Regions from separate parts of the Homo sapiens genome. Here region 2 is linked to region 1. The links are contacts of gene promoters, found by promoter capture Hi-C in human tissues and cell types (Jung and others, 2019). All regions are on one chromosome and are shown on one strand. The core of a region is centred on a gene start or on the middle of the fragment in contact, and the rest is flanking DNA. Distances in the headings are between cores, read along the strand shown. Region 1 holds the start of CNFN (cornifelin). Region 2 overlaps ARHGEF1 (Rho guanine nucleotide exchange factor 1).

Region 1 (7,766 bases), core at 3,863-6,362:
TTGCCATGTTGCCCAGGCTGGTCTCAAATTCCTGGGCTCAAGCGATCCTCCTGCCTCAGCCTCCCAAAGTGCTGGGATTATAGGCGTGACTGCTCCTGGCTCAAAAATTTTTTGTAGAGGCCGGGCGCAGTGACTCATGCCTGTAATCCCAGCACTTTGGGAGGCCAAGGTGGGTGGATCACGAGGTCAGGAGATTGAGACCATCCTGGCTAACACGGTGAAACCCTGTCTCTACTAAAAAATACAAAAAATTAGCCGGGCATGGTGGCGGGTGCCTGTAGTCCCAGCTACTCGGGAGGCTGAGACAGGAGAATGGCGTGAACCTGGGAGGCAGAGCTTGCAGTGAGCCAAGATTGCGCCACTGCACTCCAGCCTGGGCGACAGAGCGAGACTCCATCTCAAAAAAAAAAAAAAAATTTTTTTTTTCGTAGAGATGTCTCGCTGTGTCGCCCATGCTAGTCTCCAAATCCTGTCCTGAAGTGATCCTCCTGCCTCAGCCCTCCGAAAGCATTGAGATTAGAGGCAGGAGCCAACACATCCAGCCCACAGTGATTTGAGTTCACACTTTGGCCTTTCCCTGTGTACCATCTCTTGTTCTCACAATAGCCATATGACATGCTAGGGACTGTTAGTCCTATAGGGGGAATCAGGTTCAGAAAGGTTTATGAATTCACTAAGATAACACAGCTAAATGGTGAGGAGTCAAGATTAGATCCCAGGTCTGTCCAATTTTGAGACCTGAACATTTTTTGATCTGCTGTTGGTTGCTTTTGCAGGAAAGAGGGTTGATTGAAGTAGACAGTCCCTAAAAATTCCTTTTTAGGCCAGGCGCGGTGGCTCATGCCTGTAATCCCAGCACTTTGGGAGGCCAAGGCGGGAGGATCACCTGAGGTCGGGAGTTCGAGATCAGCCTGACCAACATGGAGAAACCCCGTCTCTACTAAAAATGCAAAATTAGCTGGGGATGGTGGCGCATGCCTGTAATCCCAACTACTCGGGAGGCTGAGGCAGGAGAATCGCTTGAACCCGGGAGGTGGAGGTTGCAGTGAGCTGAGATCACAACATTGCACTCCAGCCTGGGCAACAAGAGCGAAACTACGTCTCAAAAAAAAAAAAAAAAAAAAGGTCCGGGTGCGGTGGCTCACTCCTGTAATCCCAGCATTTTGGGAGGCCAAGGCAGGCGGATCATGAGGTCATGAGATTGAGACCATCCTGGCTAACACGGTGAAACCCTGTCTCTGCTAAAAAAAAAAAAAAAAAATTAGTTGGGCGTGGTGGCGGGCACCTTTAGTCCCAGCTACTCGGGAGGCTGAGGCAGGAGAATGGCGTGAACCCGGAGCTTACAGTGAGCCAAGATCGCGCCACTGCACTCCAGCCTGGGCAACAGAGTGAGACTCCGTCTCAAAAAAAAAAGAAAAAAAATTCGTTTTTAGCTCCAGAGAGCCTTAAGCTTATAAGTTCTCTGCTTTGGAGACAAAAGTCCCCCACGCCTGTTCGAATTGTGTGCAGGCCAACAGTCCATAGATATGGAGCAAGCAAGGGCGCTCTCCTGTTTTTTCTTTGAACTTCAGTGCCTCCGTCCTCCCAAGACTGACTTTCTGGTTTTGCTTATTTTCAGAATGCAGGCAGCTTCAGGCAGGGAGTCTGCAGCTAAAGAGTTAGTGGTTTTACTTTGTTAGGGTGAGGGCAACTGGGGTTTGGGAGGGATAACTTGACAAAGTCACACACTGCCTGGCGGGGTCACACGTAGGCATCTGTCTTGTCCCCACCTCTCTCACCAATCCTCTCTCTCCACCCAGATTCCTACCCTGGGACAAAATGGATGTAGGCGGAGTTGGTTTTCAGGTTTTTATTGTGGGTGTATTTCTGGCAGCGGGACAGGGGTGGTGAGGCAGTCCCTCCCAGGAGTGGCCAGAGAAGGCCAGAGGCGAGACTGGTGGAAAAGGACGGGGAAGACAGGGAACTTCCTTACTCTCGGATCTTCAGTTCCCGCGCCATCTGGCAGAGGGCGCAGGGCAGACAAAAGGTGAGGGCCGCCCAGTCGTGCCCGACGGAGCCCTAGAGGGTAGGAGAGAGCGGTCAGGAGCCCCGCGGTGGGTCCCAGGAGGCCAGTCCCCAGCTCCCTGCTCCCGCGGGTCCCCAGCCCGGCGCGCACCTGGATGTGGTAGCGCTCCCGCATGCCGGTGCGGATGGAGTGCAGGCCTCCGGGCAGGTAGGGCGCGCAGCAGCACTCGCCAAAGTCGTCGGAGATGCGGCAGGCAAGGCACAGAGGAGCAAAAGTGCCGCACAGACCTGGGCGGGGCGCAGGCGCTCAGGGGCGGGGCCAGCCGGGGCCTCCCGACGGCTCCGCCCCGGGGGGGGCGCGGTTGATTCGCCGCGGAGGGGCATTGAGGGTCCCAGCCAAGGAGAGGTCCCAGAGGGAATTAGAGGTCCGAGGAGAGGATGGCTTAGCGATTGGAAGGCAGGGTTTTTCTTTTTTTTTTTTTCTTCTTTTTTTTTTTTTTTAGAAATTGGAGGCTGGGTGCAGTGGCTTACGCCTGTAATCCCAGCACTTTGGGAGGCCTAGGCGGGAGGATCACGAGGTCAGGGGTTTGAGACCAGCCTACCCAACATAGTGAAACCCCGTCTCTACTAAAAATACAAAAATTAGCCGGGCGTGGTGGTGTGTGCCTGTAATCTCAGCTACTAGGGAGGCTGAGGCAGGAGAATCGCTTGAACCCGGGAAGCGGAGGTTGCAGTGAGCATAGACTGTGCCATTGCATTCCAGCCTGGGCGACAGAGCAATACTCCGTCTCAAAAAAAACAAAAAACAAAACAAAAAAAAAAACGAAAGAAAGAAAAAAAAAGAAAAAGAAATTAAAGTCTCGGTCTGTCATCCAGGCTGGAGTGCAGTGGTGTGATCACATGTCTCACTGTAGCCTCGACCTCCTGGGCTCAAGCAATCCTCCCGCCTCGGCCTCCCGAGTAGCTGGGACTACTGGTGTGTGCCACCACCTCGGGCTAATTTTATTTTTTATTTTTATTTTTGAGACGGAATCTCGCTCTGTTGCCCAGACTGGAGTGCAGTGGCGTGATCTCGGCTCACTGCAACCTCTGTCTCCCGGGTTCAATCAATTCTCTTTCTCAGCCTCCCGAGTAGCTGAGTTTACAGGCGCCCGCCACCACGCCCGGTTTTTTTTTTTGTATTTTTAGTAGAGACGGGGTTTCACCATCTTGGCCAGACTGGTCTTGAACTCCTGACCTTGTGGTCCACCTGCCATGGCCTCCCAAAGTCCTGGGATTACAGGCGTGAGCCACTGCGCCCGACCTATTTTTTATTTTTATTTTTGTAGAGATGGGGATCTCATTATGTTGCCCAGGCTGATCTTGAATTCCTGGCCTCAAGGGATTGTCATGCCTTGGCCTCCCAAAGTGTTGGGATTACAGGCATGAGCCACTGCACTGGGCCAGGAGCTAGGGTTTGAAGAGGGAGTTGGGGGTCACAGTGAGGAAAGCTGAGCATGCAAAGGGGAGGTTGAGGGCCTGATAAGTTGAGTGTGGGAAGGCATGAGGTAGTATCCTAAGGAGTGTTGGGGGTCTGAGGAAAGGGTGACTGTTAGAGTGGGAATTCCAAGTCCAGGGAAGGGAGGTGGGAGTGGGGTTAGCAAGCGGTGGGAGGAGGTTGGAGGTGAGCTTCCCTCTCCTGATTCCCCCCAAACCCATCTTCCACCAGGCCTGGAGAGGGAGCAGGCAGGCACTCACAGACAGGCATGTCGTTGCAGCAGTCCGTGAGACCTGTGTGCCAGTCACTGAGCTGGGTCTGGTAGCAGCTGGTGGTGGCGCACTGGGGCTGACTGGTCACAGGGTAGGACATAGCTGCAGAGGTGGGAGGGTAGGGGTCAGCTGGCAGCCTCGCAGCATCTCCTGGGCCCCGCACTTCGGCCACCCTTCCCTGTGCCGGGCAGTCTGGGCGGGGCCGCCAGGCCGCCCACTGAAGGGACACCACTGTGCCTCCCCCTTCCCTTCTGCTACATCTGGGCACCGGCAACCCCAGTCTGTCCCTGTTGCTGCTGGCTCCTGCACGTCTGGTTAGGCTGGGGGTGGGGGTCTCCTGCACATCTGAGGAAGGGTGGGGACCACATCTGGGTGGGGCCTGGCGGTGCCGCCTCCTCCTCCACGTCTGGGCCTGGGTTCTGGGTTGCAGCATTTCTGGGGCCTCTGGGGTGGAAGCAGGCGCCGTCTGTCTTCGAAGCAAGGGTGCCCAGGGGAGGGAGGCGGCCAGGTTCCAGTACTGAGAGGGTTGCTGGTCCACCCAGCGGTCCCACCTTTGCCTTTCACGTTGTCGTGCATCTCAAACTGCATCTTGCTGGCCCTGAGGAGGTGGCGTTGGGGACGGCAGAAGTGGCTGTGGCAACAGTGGCAGAGTCTGTCCAAGGGACGCTGGATACTGGGGAGGTGGGGGCAAGGGACTGGGGCACTGGGGGCTGGGCTCTCAGGGGGAGGGGAGCTGGGGAGAAAGAGGCCAAGTCAGCCTGTCAACCAGGAGAGACATGGAATAGGGAATGGATAGGGCGGGGGCGAGAAACTCGCCCATGTCTTTCCAACTGCCCGACAGATTGCAGAGGACCCTCCCCATACCCGAGATAGAGCTTGAGGGAGAACAAGAAATGGAGATGGACAGAGTCAGAGACAAGGGGAGAAAGATCAGAGCCAGGTGCCCGTAGAGATGTCACCAGTAATGCCCACATGTGCCCAGCACTTTGACTCCTCTGCAAGCCCATCTCACAGATGAGCACTGAGGCTCAGAGACATGAGGAGGAACGCCCCACGTCTGACGGCCCAGGCCAAGGGGGTTCATAGAGGTGATGCTGGGCCCCAAGACTTCTAAATTCAGCTCAGCACACCCCAGTTAAGAAGGACAGATTTGGGGGCATTGGGAAGGACAGAGATGTCCCGAGAGACCGACAATCAGCGATATGAAAGGAGACAGAGTGATATGAGTGGGATGAGGAGGAGGGAGAACAGAGCAGAGGCGCCCAACCTCAAAGAAGAGGGCTGCGGAGGGGATGTTCCTACCTGCAGGATCGCGATGGCAGTGATGGAGGCAGACGTGTGGAGACACGGGCACTGACTTCTCCGTCTCAGCCCAGAGCCACTTATATGGGCGGCCACGCAGCCCTGGGCGGGGCTCTGACAGAGGTGCCCAGGGAGCCAAGCCGGTCTGATCGACCCTCTCCCCACACTGGGATTTCCCGCCCTCCCTCTCCACTCCCATCCCCCCACTTCTCCTCCTGCCTCAGCTCCCAGGACCCAGGGAAAAGAAGGTGGCGGGGGGTGGGAGGTTTGGCGGGGGCGGGGGGCCACAGCCGGGTCAATGCGCAGAGACCAAAAGAGAGGGAGAGACAGAAACACAGTGTCAGAAAGGCAGGCAGGGAAGTCCCTCTAGACAGAAAGGAGAGAGAGGAGATTCAGAGAGATGGAGAGACGCAGGAAGATGTAGAGAGATGGAGAGGTGCCAAGAAACAGAGGGGCACAAAAATGTGAAAAGAAATAACAAGAAGAGGGGAGATGGGCCAGGCATGGTGGCTCTCGCCTGTAATCCCAACCCTGTAATCGCCTGAGGTGAGAGGATCGCTTGAGCCCAGGAGTTGAAGACCAGCCTGGGCAACATAGGGATACCCCATCTCTACAAAAAATACAAATAGAATTAGCCGGGCATGGTGGCATGTGCCTGTAGTCCCAGCTACTTGAGAGGCTGAGGCAGGAGGATCGCTTGAGTCCAGAAGTTTGAGGCTGCAGTGAGCCGTGTTCCCGCCACTACACTCCGGCCTCAGTGACAGAGCAAGACCCTGTCTTAAAAAAAAAAAAGGAAAGAAAAGGGGAGATGGGAGACAGAAGAGAGACGGAGATGGAAAAGTGGAGAGGCAGGTGGGGGGATCACTGAACAGGCTTAGAGGGCAGGGAAATGGGGAGAGGTGATGGGTGGGGAGAGAAAAAGGCCGGGTGGAGTGGGAGAGAGTGCTGTGTGGGACTCCCCTTTCAGGGTCTCGCTCATCTCTCTCAGTGATATCCCCACTTTCCTGGGAGAGGGGGACAGTGTCCTCCCCATTCAAGCCAGGAGACACATGGGGGGCAGTGTGTTTTGGGGAATGACTCATGTTGGAACCAAAGTAAATAAACACACCTCACCCCAGCTCCAAATTGGGAAGGGAGGAGGCTGGGAACTGAAAAGCCGCAGTTCCTGAAGGACGTGGACGTCACCTGGGACTCCTGGGTCCTAATGGAGCAAAGGAGTGGGGGCTTGGACCCCTGGGTCTGAGGGAGGAGGGGCTGGGGCCCTGGACTCCTGCGTCTCATGAGGCCAGGCTGCACATCCCTCAGTAGGGTAGGGGTCCTGGGATTCCACACTGCTGGGCTCCTGAGCAGGGAAGGAGCTGGGGGTCTGGGTGCCTGAATCGCCAAAGTTTCCCCCCAACAGGCCTGACGGGGTTGGGAGGTGACTCAGTGAGGGAAGCAGCATTAGAGCTGGGTGGGGTTCTCAGCACGGGTGTCACCCCAAAAATGTAGGAGGCACTAGAAAACTGGGGTGTCACCTGCAGAGAAGGTGGTGTCATCACCCCGCCGGGTATGGGGTGATGGCAGGTGGATCACCCTGCTAGCTGGGATCCCAGGTGTCCCCTCCCTCCCTCCCTCCCTCCAACACATTAGGACCCAAGCCTTGGTCTCCCAGCACCACCCAGATGGTTGGGTCTTCCTGTCCCCAGAACTCCCGGCAGCGCTCACTGTCTTGCCGGTGCACGTCCGTCATTGGTCCTAGAGCCTGGATGTCTGGGGGACATCTCCTCACTTGTGTCCTAACATCCCTGTCTCCTCATCTCTGAATCTTCGTCTCTCACCCTGCATCTTCACCTTTCCAGCTGTGAATCTGTCTTTCTTTCCTCATCTCTGCAAATCTCTTTCCAAATCTCTGTCTCTCCATCTCTGGGTCCCTCTCCTTCCAGGCTCTGTGTCTCTGTGCCCTTATCCCGGGGTCTCTGTCTCCTATGTCAAAATCTCTTCTGAATCTCGCTTCCCATCTCTGTTCATCTCCAGACCTGCCCTGTGGAGGCAGCTACAGGGCCCCATCCCCCCTGCTGTCCAGACTAAGGGTGCAGGTGACTCAAGGTCAGTCATCTCCGAGGACCCCAGGGCTCCCAGCATGACACTCTGAGTTGTCCTCAAGTTTCCTCTCTCACTCCTGACACAGCCTGGGGGCCCCAATTAGATCTAGCAATTCATGCAGGTGAGGAAATAGAGACTGGGGAAGCTGTGAGGTGGCCTGCTTGGGGGTGAGGAGGGCCGTGAGCAGGAGGAGGAGCTCCTGGGGGGCTGAGGAGTGATGGTGGCCCAGTCACCAGGCATTGGCCTACATCCTCCTCAAACAGGGTTGCCACATAAAATACAGGCTGTCCTGTAAAATCTGAAATTCAGATAAGCAACAAACAGGTTTTTTAGCATGTTTCATGCAGTATTTGGGACATATTTATACTAAAAAAGTATTTGTTATTTATCTAAAATTCAAATTAAATTGGGCTTCCTATAGTTTTATTTGCTAAATCTGGAACCCTACCATCAAAGACAGAGGAGTTCAGGACTCCAGCCCCCTCTTTTCCCAGAACCTAGGAGTCCAGGCCCCAGCCTTCCCTCCTTAGGATCTGCGAGTCCAGGTCCTAATCCTCCTCCTCCCCCTTAGAAGGAATGGGGCACCCAACCCCCTCCTCCTTTGGAAATACAGGAGTCCAGGCTCC
Region 2 (7,766 bases), core at 3,533-6,032, 490 kb before region 1:
AGTCTTGGGATTACAAGTGTGAGCCACCAGGCCCAGTCAAGGAAGAGCATTTTAATGAGATTGTTGTTACTAGTTTGATCTTAATTGCTTAGGGGAGAAAAGATCCCCACAGGGGAAAGTTTGGGAGAATGATCAGTATATTAGCAGTGCTTGCTTCTGCGTGGAGAGATGATGAGTGTATCATTTTTGTCTTTTTCCTTTTTTCCTTTGCTAATTGTGTGGTGGCTAGGGAGGCTGGTGGCAAAAAGAGAAAGCTTTTTTTTTTTTTTTTTTTTTAAGACAGAGTTTTGCTCTTGTTGCCCAGGCTGGAGTGCAATGGCACAATCTCGGCTCACCACAACCTACGCCTCCCAGGTTCAAGTGATTCTCCTGCCTCAGCCTCCTGAGTAGCTGGGATTACAGGCATGTGCCACCACGCCCGGCTAATTTTGTATTTTTAGTAGAGACGGGGTTTCTCCATGTTGGTCAGGCTGGTCTCGAACGCCCGCCTCAGCCTCCCAAAGTGCTGGGATTACAGGCGTGAGCCACTGTGCCTAGCCCAAGAGAAAGGTTTGGGACTTGACTGAAAGCTTATTTACAGATTACTTCATAGTGAAAAAGATACTTATTCAAAAATTTTAGGGGAGTAGTTGAGTACTTTTTGGGTCACAGATCCTTCTAAGGACATGATAAAAAAAAAAAAAAACATGAGCCATGTGCTACCCATTAGGACTTTCTGGAAGATGGAAATGTGCTTTATTTGTACTGCTCACCATGGGGACCATCGGCCACCTATGGCTGGTGAGCACTTGAAATGCACTAGGCCAGGCACAGTGGCTCATGCCTGTGATCCCAGCACTTTGGGAAGCCGAGGTGGGCAGATCACTTGAGGTCAGGAGTTCGAGACTAGCCTGGCCAACATGGTGAAACCCCATCTCTACTAAACATACAAAAATTAGCCAAGCATAGTGGCGCATGCCTGTAATCCCAGATACTCGAGAGAGTAAGCCAGGAGAATTGCTTGAACCCAGGAAGCAGGAGATGGAGGTTGCAATGAACCCAGATCACTCCACCACACTTCAATCTAGGTGACAGAGCAAGACTGTGTCTCAAAAAAAAAGCACTAAATACAACTGAGCACTGACTTAAAATTTCATTGCAATTAACGAAAATGTAAAGAGTTGTACACGGCTGGTGACTATCACGTTGGACAGGATAGCAATTTCTTTCCCCAGAAAGAATATGCATAATGTACAAAATCGTGCTTTTAGTCTCAGGGGACTTCTAGGGCCCCTGAAACTCACACATATGCCCTCCGGGGATGTGGGGGTCCCTGGATCTGAGGCTGTCAACCACTGTATAATGTGGCTTGATGGTTAGACACTAAACACAGCTGCAAGCTTGCTGGCAGGTGGGATGACTAGCTTGTCCCCATTTGCTCAGGATATTCACAGTTTTATCACTGAAAGCCCAGGCAGGCAAATGAGGACCATTGGTCACTCTGGCCAGCTGCCACAGCGAAAAGGGAAAGGCAGTGGGTTGAGGAATCCTCACTGGTTTTTTTTTTTTTTTTTTTTTTTTGAGACGATCTCGCTCTGTCGCCTAGGCTAGAGTGCAGTGGCGTGATCTCCGCTCACTGCAACCTCCACCTCCCAGGTTCAAGCGATTGTCCTGCCTCAGCCTCCCAAGTAGCTGGAACTACAGGTGCCCACCACCACTCCTGGCTAATTTTTGTATTTTTAGTAGAGATGGGGTTTCACCATGTTGGCCAGGATGGTCTTGATCTCTTGACCTCGTGATCTGCCCGCCTAAGCCTCCCAAATTGCTGGGATTACAGGCATGAGCCACTGCACCCGGCCCCTCAGTGGCTATTTAAGAGGGCAAATGACTCCACCCGGAGAGTTTTTTTTTTTATTTGTTTGTTTTGTTTTGTTTTTTTGAGACGGAGTCTCGTTCTGTCACCAGGCTGGAGTGCAGTGGTGTGATCTCAGCTCACTGCAACCTCTGTCTCCCGGGTTCAAGAGATTCTCCTGCCTCAGCCTCCCGAGTAGCTGGGACTACAAGAGTCCGCCCCCACACCTGGCTAATTTTTGTATTTTTTTAGTAGAGATGGGGTTTCACCATGTTGGCCAGGCTGGTCTTGAACTCCTGACCTTGTGATCCACCTGCCTCAGCCTCCCAAAATGCTGGGATTATAGGCATGAGCCACTGTGCCCAGCCATTTTGTTTTGAGACAAGGTCTCGCTCTGTTGCTTGAGCTGGGGTGCAGTAATGCCATCATAGCTCACTGCAGCCTCAACCTCCTGGGCTCAAGGGATCCTCCCACTTGAGCCTCCCAAGTAGCTGGGACTACAGGCACACACCAACATGCCTGGGCTAATTTTTTTTCTTTTTTAAATTTTTGGTAGAAACAGGGTTTCACCATGTTGCCCAGGCTGATCTTGGACTCCTGGGTTCAAGCAATCCTCTTGCCTTGGCCTCCCAAAGTGCTGGGATTACAAGTGTGAACCACCATGGCTAGCCAGAGAGAGTTTTTTCCCACCAACTTCTAGGAAGCTTTCCTCCCTGCTCTGCCTCATTCCTCTAGCCTGCCCATGAGGTCATGCCCCCTAGTCTGCACCCTCCCCAACATGCTTCCTGCTTTGGTGGCCCTGCAGAGCTGCTGGTGACAGAGGCGGCCCACGTGCGCATGCTGCGGGTGCTGCACGACCTCTTCTTCCAGCCCATGGCAGAATGCCTGTTCTTCCCCTTGGAGGAGCTGCAGAACATCTTCCCCAGCCTGGACGAGCTCATCGAGGTGCATTGTGAGTGCAGAGCCAGGGTCCCTCTGTGTACCCCACTGCCCCACGGGCAGCTCTGCTCTAGCCCTGGGTTCAACCTGCTCGGGAACCCCAGGGTTCACATGGGGTGGGGGCAGATACGCCATCCGGTCCCGAGGATCAGACACAGACACACCTGCAGCCCTACCCCCACCACACCGCAGCAGGCCCCGCACAGCATCTTCCAGACCCTGGTGGAGCATCCCTTTCCTCCTGCCCCCACAGCCCTGTTCCTCGATCGCCTGATGAAGCGGAGGCAGGAGAGTGGCTACCTCATCGAGGAGATCGGAGACGTGCTGCTGGCCCGGGTGAGATGCCCAGCCCTCCCGCTCCTCCCAGCTAGACACATGGAATTCAGGCCCGGGACGGGTCCTGAGCCCACCCTACTCCAGTCCCAGGGTCTGGGCTTCCAGCCTGTCGTACTTTAGTCCCTGTTCTTGCCCATCCCCACTGAGACACCTGCCTGGCCTGAATCTCGCTGTAGTTTGATGGTGCTGAGGGCTCCTGGTTCCAGAAAATCTCCTCCCGCTTCTGCAGCCGCCAGTCATTTGCCTTAGAGCAGCTCAAAGCCAAGCAACGCAAGGACCCTCGGTTCTGTGCCTTCGTGCAGGTGAGGTGGGGTCTGGACTCCAGCTTCCCAGGGAGGAGGGGCCTGGAGACCCAGACTCCTAGGTGCCTGCGCCCTGGGGTGAGCCCAAAGCCTGGGCCATCGCAACACCAGCATGTTTCCCGCAGGAAGCTGAGAGCCGCCCGCGGTGCCGCCGCCTGCAGCTGAAGGACATGATCCCCACGGAGATGCAGCGGCTGACCAAGTACCCCCTGCTCCTGCAGAGCATCGGGCAGAACACAGGTACCGCGGGCCTGGATCTCTGGGCCTCGGCTCTCCTCTTTTTTTTTTACATTTTTTTTCTCACTCATTTTCATCAGTGATACCATCACAGCTCACTGCAGCCTCAACCTCCCAGGATCTACCATCCTCCCACCTCAGCTCCCCAAGTAGCTGGGACCCCAAGGGCACACCACCATGCCCAGCTAATTTTTTTAGTTTTTTTTTTTAGAGACGGGGTCTCGCCATGTTGCCCAGGCTGGCTTTGAACTCCTGGTCTCAAGCTATCCTCCCGCCTCAGCCTCCCAAAGTGCTTGGATTACAGGCGTGAGCCACCATGCCCGGCCAGCTGTCCTTTGTCTAACCTTGGCTGCCCAATCTGGAGCCTCCAGGGCAGGGGTTCACCAGAGCTGCTCTCTCCCTTGCCTGCAGAAGAGCCCACAGAACGGGAGAAAGTGGAGCTGGCAGCCGAGTGCTGCCGGGAAATTCTACACCACGTCAACCAAGCCGTGCGTGACATGGAGGACCTGCTGGTGAGCCTGGGCTGGCCCCACACCCGGGACAGTGGATGGTGTGAGAGCAGGGGGTGGACCCTACCTCAGCCTGTCCAGAAGTCACACCCCACCCCTTGGCTTGTCTCCCTCAAGGGTCACTGTGTCCAGGGGTTGGCTTGGCCCTCAGCATCTCCCTCTCAGGGTCATTGGAGGTCAGGCCCAACCCTCAGCTTGCCCGCATCAGAAGTTGGTCTTGGCTCTCATCTTACCAATGTGGGTCACTGCAGGTCAGCCCCAGCACTTAGCTTGTCCCCATAATGCTCCCGTCTCTGCCCCAGAGGCTCAAGGACTATCAGCGGCGCCTGGACTTGTCCCACCTTCGGCAGAGCAGCGACCCTATGCTGAGCGAGTTCAAGGTGTGACCATACCCTCCTGCCTCCCCCGCCCCCCTACTCCTTGGCCCAGGGGATTCTGTGATACAGCCCCCAGCCTGTCCTGCCCATCCCATAATACACCCAGGAAGCGAGAGCTCTGTCCCCCACCTCATGCCAATCCCATGATCCCCAGCCTGTGGTCATCCCCGGCCACTGCCCTGCCCTTCCCCTCCCCACCAACCCCAATCACCCCCTGCCAACCTGCACAAACCATCACCCCCTCCTGCCCCAGAACCTGGACATCACCAAGAAGAAATTGGTCCACGAGGGCCCACTGACGTGGCGGGTGACTAAGGACAAGGCAGTGGGTGAGTGCCAGAGCAGCTGCCTAGTGCAGGGTGTTGGGGCAGTGAGCCAAGGGCGGGGAGGGGGTCGCGCGGGGGCACGCCGTGTGAGCACTGCTCGCCCCGTAGAGGTGCATGTGCTGCTGCTGGACGACCTGCTGCTGCTGCTCCAGCGCCAGGACGAGCGGCTGCTGCTCAAGTCCCATAGCCGGACACTGACGCCCACGCCCGATGGCAAGACCATGCTGCGGCCCGTGCTGCGGCTCACCTCCGCCATGACCCGCGAGGTGGCCACCGGTGAGTGCAGCCACTGCATGGCCCAGGGCAGAGGGTGTCTTTTTTGGGCAGAGCTGCCTGTGGAGTGGGGAGCAGAACCCTCTAGAGAGCCAGGGAGCCAGCATTCTAGCAAAGAGGTTGAGAAGTAGGTGGAGGTGGGCAGGGCGGGGCCAGGCCTAGAGGGTTTATAAGTGAGGTAGGAACTGCTGCAGGTGTTTGCACAGAGGCGTGTCTTGTGTAAACAAGGAGAAGAAAGGCCAGGAGTCCAGTGAGGAGGGATTTGTAAACATACTACTAGGAAGTTGCACCAGGGCCACAAACACTGGAAGCGGCTGGAGGGTGGGAGTGGCTGGAGGGGTTTCGTTAGGTAAGCCAGGGTACATGCCCGATTCCATAAGGAGGTGTGAGAGGTGGGGCTCAGGAGGACACATCGGGCCCTGGATATTAGCAGACAGTGAGTGGTGAGTTGAGCCATGGGAGCCCTGAGAGCGCCACCACTGTGGGTGACTTCTCCAGCTTGTGCTTAGGGAGGGGCAGGCACTGGGGGGACCTGGGCTCTGAGCCCCATCTCCCCCTCTCCCTGCAGATCACAAAGCCTTCTACGTCCTTTTTACCTGGGACCAGGAGGCCCAGATATACGAGCTGGTGGCACAGACTGTGTCGGAGCGGAAAAAGTGAGGGGGGGTCTGAGTTCTGAGTGTGGGTGGAGGACGCCCAGGTTTCTGGGTTCCCAGGGACAGGAGGGCTGTGGGGAGGCCCTGGCATAGGGTCTGGGGGCTCTGACTGCCCAGGGATTTGGCCTTTCTCCCCAGCTGGTGTGCTCTCATCACTGAGACTGCCGGATCCCTGAAAGTCCCTGCCCCTGCCTCTCGCCCTAAGCCCCGGCCCAGCCCGAGCAGGTGAGGGGGGCCATGGAGAGAGCTGGAGGTTCAGGGAGTGGGGCCGGAAGGCGGGGCAGGCTTCCCTCCACAACTCCAGAACCGTCTCTGTGTGAGCATGCACATGTGTGAATGCATGTGTGTGCATACATGTGTGTCTGTACGCAAGTATGTGACTGTGCGTGCATATATAGTGTGTGTATGCATGCATGTGTGCGTGTGCATGTGTGTGCGTGTATGGTGTGTGTGTATGCATATGTGTGCATGCGTGTGACAGCATGTGCATGCATGTGTGTGTGTGTGCGCATGTGCCGACCCCACCACTGCCCCGTCTGTCTCCTGTCTCCAGGCCTCTGTGTCTTCCATTGTCTGGGCCTCTCTGTCTCCCTGTCTCCCGGCCTCGACCTCTGTCTCTGTCTCCGGACCTCCCTGCCTCCCCACCTCCAGCTCTCTGTCTCCCTGCCCCTGCGGCCCCCCAGGGCCAGGGGTGTGGGGTCACCCAGCACTTCCTCCCCTCAGCACCCGAGAACCCCTCCTCAGCAGCTCTGAGAACGGCAATGGTGGCCGAGAGACGTCTCCAGCTGATGGTGAGACCAGAGGGATGCTGGGTGAGGGGCCAGGTTGGGGCTGCCGGGTGAAGAGAGGCATCCACAGGAGGCCCGGCAGGATCTGAGCTCCCTCTCTGTTCCCCAATCCAGCCCGGACCGAGAGAATCCTCAGTGACCTCCTGCCCTTCTGCAGACCAGGCCCCGAGGGCCAGCTCGCTGCCACGGCCCTTCGGAAAGGTAGCCCAGCTCTGCCCCTCCAGGGTGGCCACCAGCCCAAACAGTGCCTCTGTTCCAACTAGAACAAGGCTCTCCACGTCAAAAATTTCCTTACGCCCAGCTGCCAGAAAACAAATGCTCCAAACCCACCCAGCCTGCACCACTGTCCTGGGTGCCCACGTCCCTCTTCTGCAGCCACCATCCCTTGCTTGATTCTATATTTAGCCTCTTCCTGAACACATCTCTGTCTTCAGTACCTTCCTGCCCTGTCCCAACCCTAAACCCAGCCTCACTTCTTCACCTCCCTTTGGATCCCCGAACCCCATCTGCTCAGCCTTGCCTGGCACCCACCTTCACCTCCAGCCCCTACACATCCCCTTTGGAATCCCCCATCCCAGATCCCAGCCCAGCCCCCTGGTCTCCTGACTCCACCCCTCCTTGCCCCTGGCCAGTGCTGTCCCTGAAGCAGCTTCTGTTTCCGGCGGAGGAAGACAATGGGGCGGGGCCTCCTCGAGATGGGGATGGGGTCCCAGGGGGCGGCCCCCTGAGCCCAGCACGGACCCAGGAAATCCAGGAGAACCTGCTCAGCTTGGAGGAGACCATGAAGCAGCTGGAGGTGGGGCGGGACGGGCCAGGGGTGCCCTGAGTGGGCTGGGGAAGGAAGGGGCCCCCCTCATCCATGACCCCCACCCCACCAGGAGTTGGAGGAGGAATTTTGCCGCCTGAGACCCCTCCTGTCTCAGCTTGGGGGGAACTCTGTCCCCCAGCCTGGCTGCACTTGAGGTTCCCGCCCAGGAAGGTGAGTGGGGCACCTGGGGGCCAGGGCGCTGTCCTGAAAGGAGGGTCCCCCTCCAGAGCTCGCATCCCTACAGCCCCTTCTGTCCATCTCCCTCTTTGTCTTTTCTGAATCTCCCCACTCCACCTCGTGTTTCTCATCTCTGTGTCTCTGTTTCTGATAATCTGTTTCTCTGTCTCTGTGCCCGCCTGCCTCTCCCCACCTCCCCTTCTCTCT

What was found. The method cuts DNA at HindIII sites, captures the fragments that hold promoters and counts their contacts. A contact is called where the count stands out against the background at its distance.
Region 2: a contact is called between a fragment that was not itself captured here and the fragment with the promoter of CNFN in region 1, in 4 of the 25 tissues and cell types used here (bladder, dorsolateral prefrontal cortex, liver and 1 more).

Annotation. Positions count from the first base shown.
Region 1 is chr19:42,385,185-42,392,950 of GRCh38, forward strand. It overlaps CNFN (cornifelin), which reads right to left and starts at 5,113. Exons shown (of 4, transcript NM_032488.4): 1 at 5,056-5,113; 2 at 3,742-3,855; 3 at 2,156-2,292; 4 at 1,835-2,058. The coding sequence starts at 3,853. The coding sequence ends at 1,969. RefSeq lists silencers at 2,021-2,200, 2,221-2,400. The HindIII fragment of the contact is 13,351 bases long and covers 1-7,766 here.
Region 2 is chr19:41,899,251-41,907,016 of GRCh38, forward strand. ARHGEF1 (Rho guanine nucleotide exchange factor 1) reads left to right here. Exons shown (of 29, transcript NM_004706.4): 15 at 2,637-2,783; 16 at 3,024-3,106; 17 at 3,283-3,408; 18 at 3,534-3,648; 19 at 4,057-4,157; 20 at 4,457-4,534; 21 at 4,785-4,860; 22 at 4,966-5,133; 23 at 5,699-5,786; 24 at 5,925-6,011; 25 at 6,510-6,577; 26 at 6,689-6,775; 27 at 7,207-7,370; 28 at 7,453-7,553. The coding sequence ends at 7,536. Among named protein-coding and RNA genes, the nearest start is that of ARHGEF1, 20 kb to the left of the region's middle. RefSeq lists enhancers at 4,513-5,118, 5,119-5,723, 6,329-6,933. The HindIII fragment of the contact is 9,702 bases long and covers 1-7,766 here.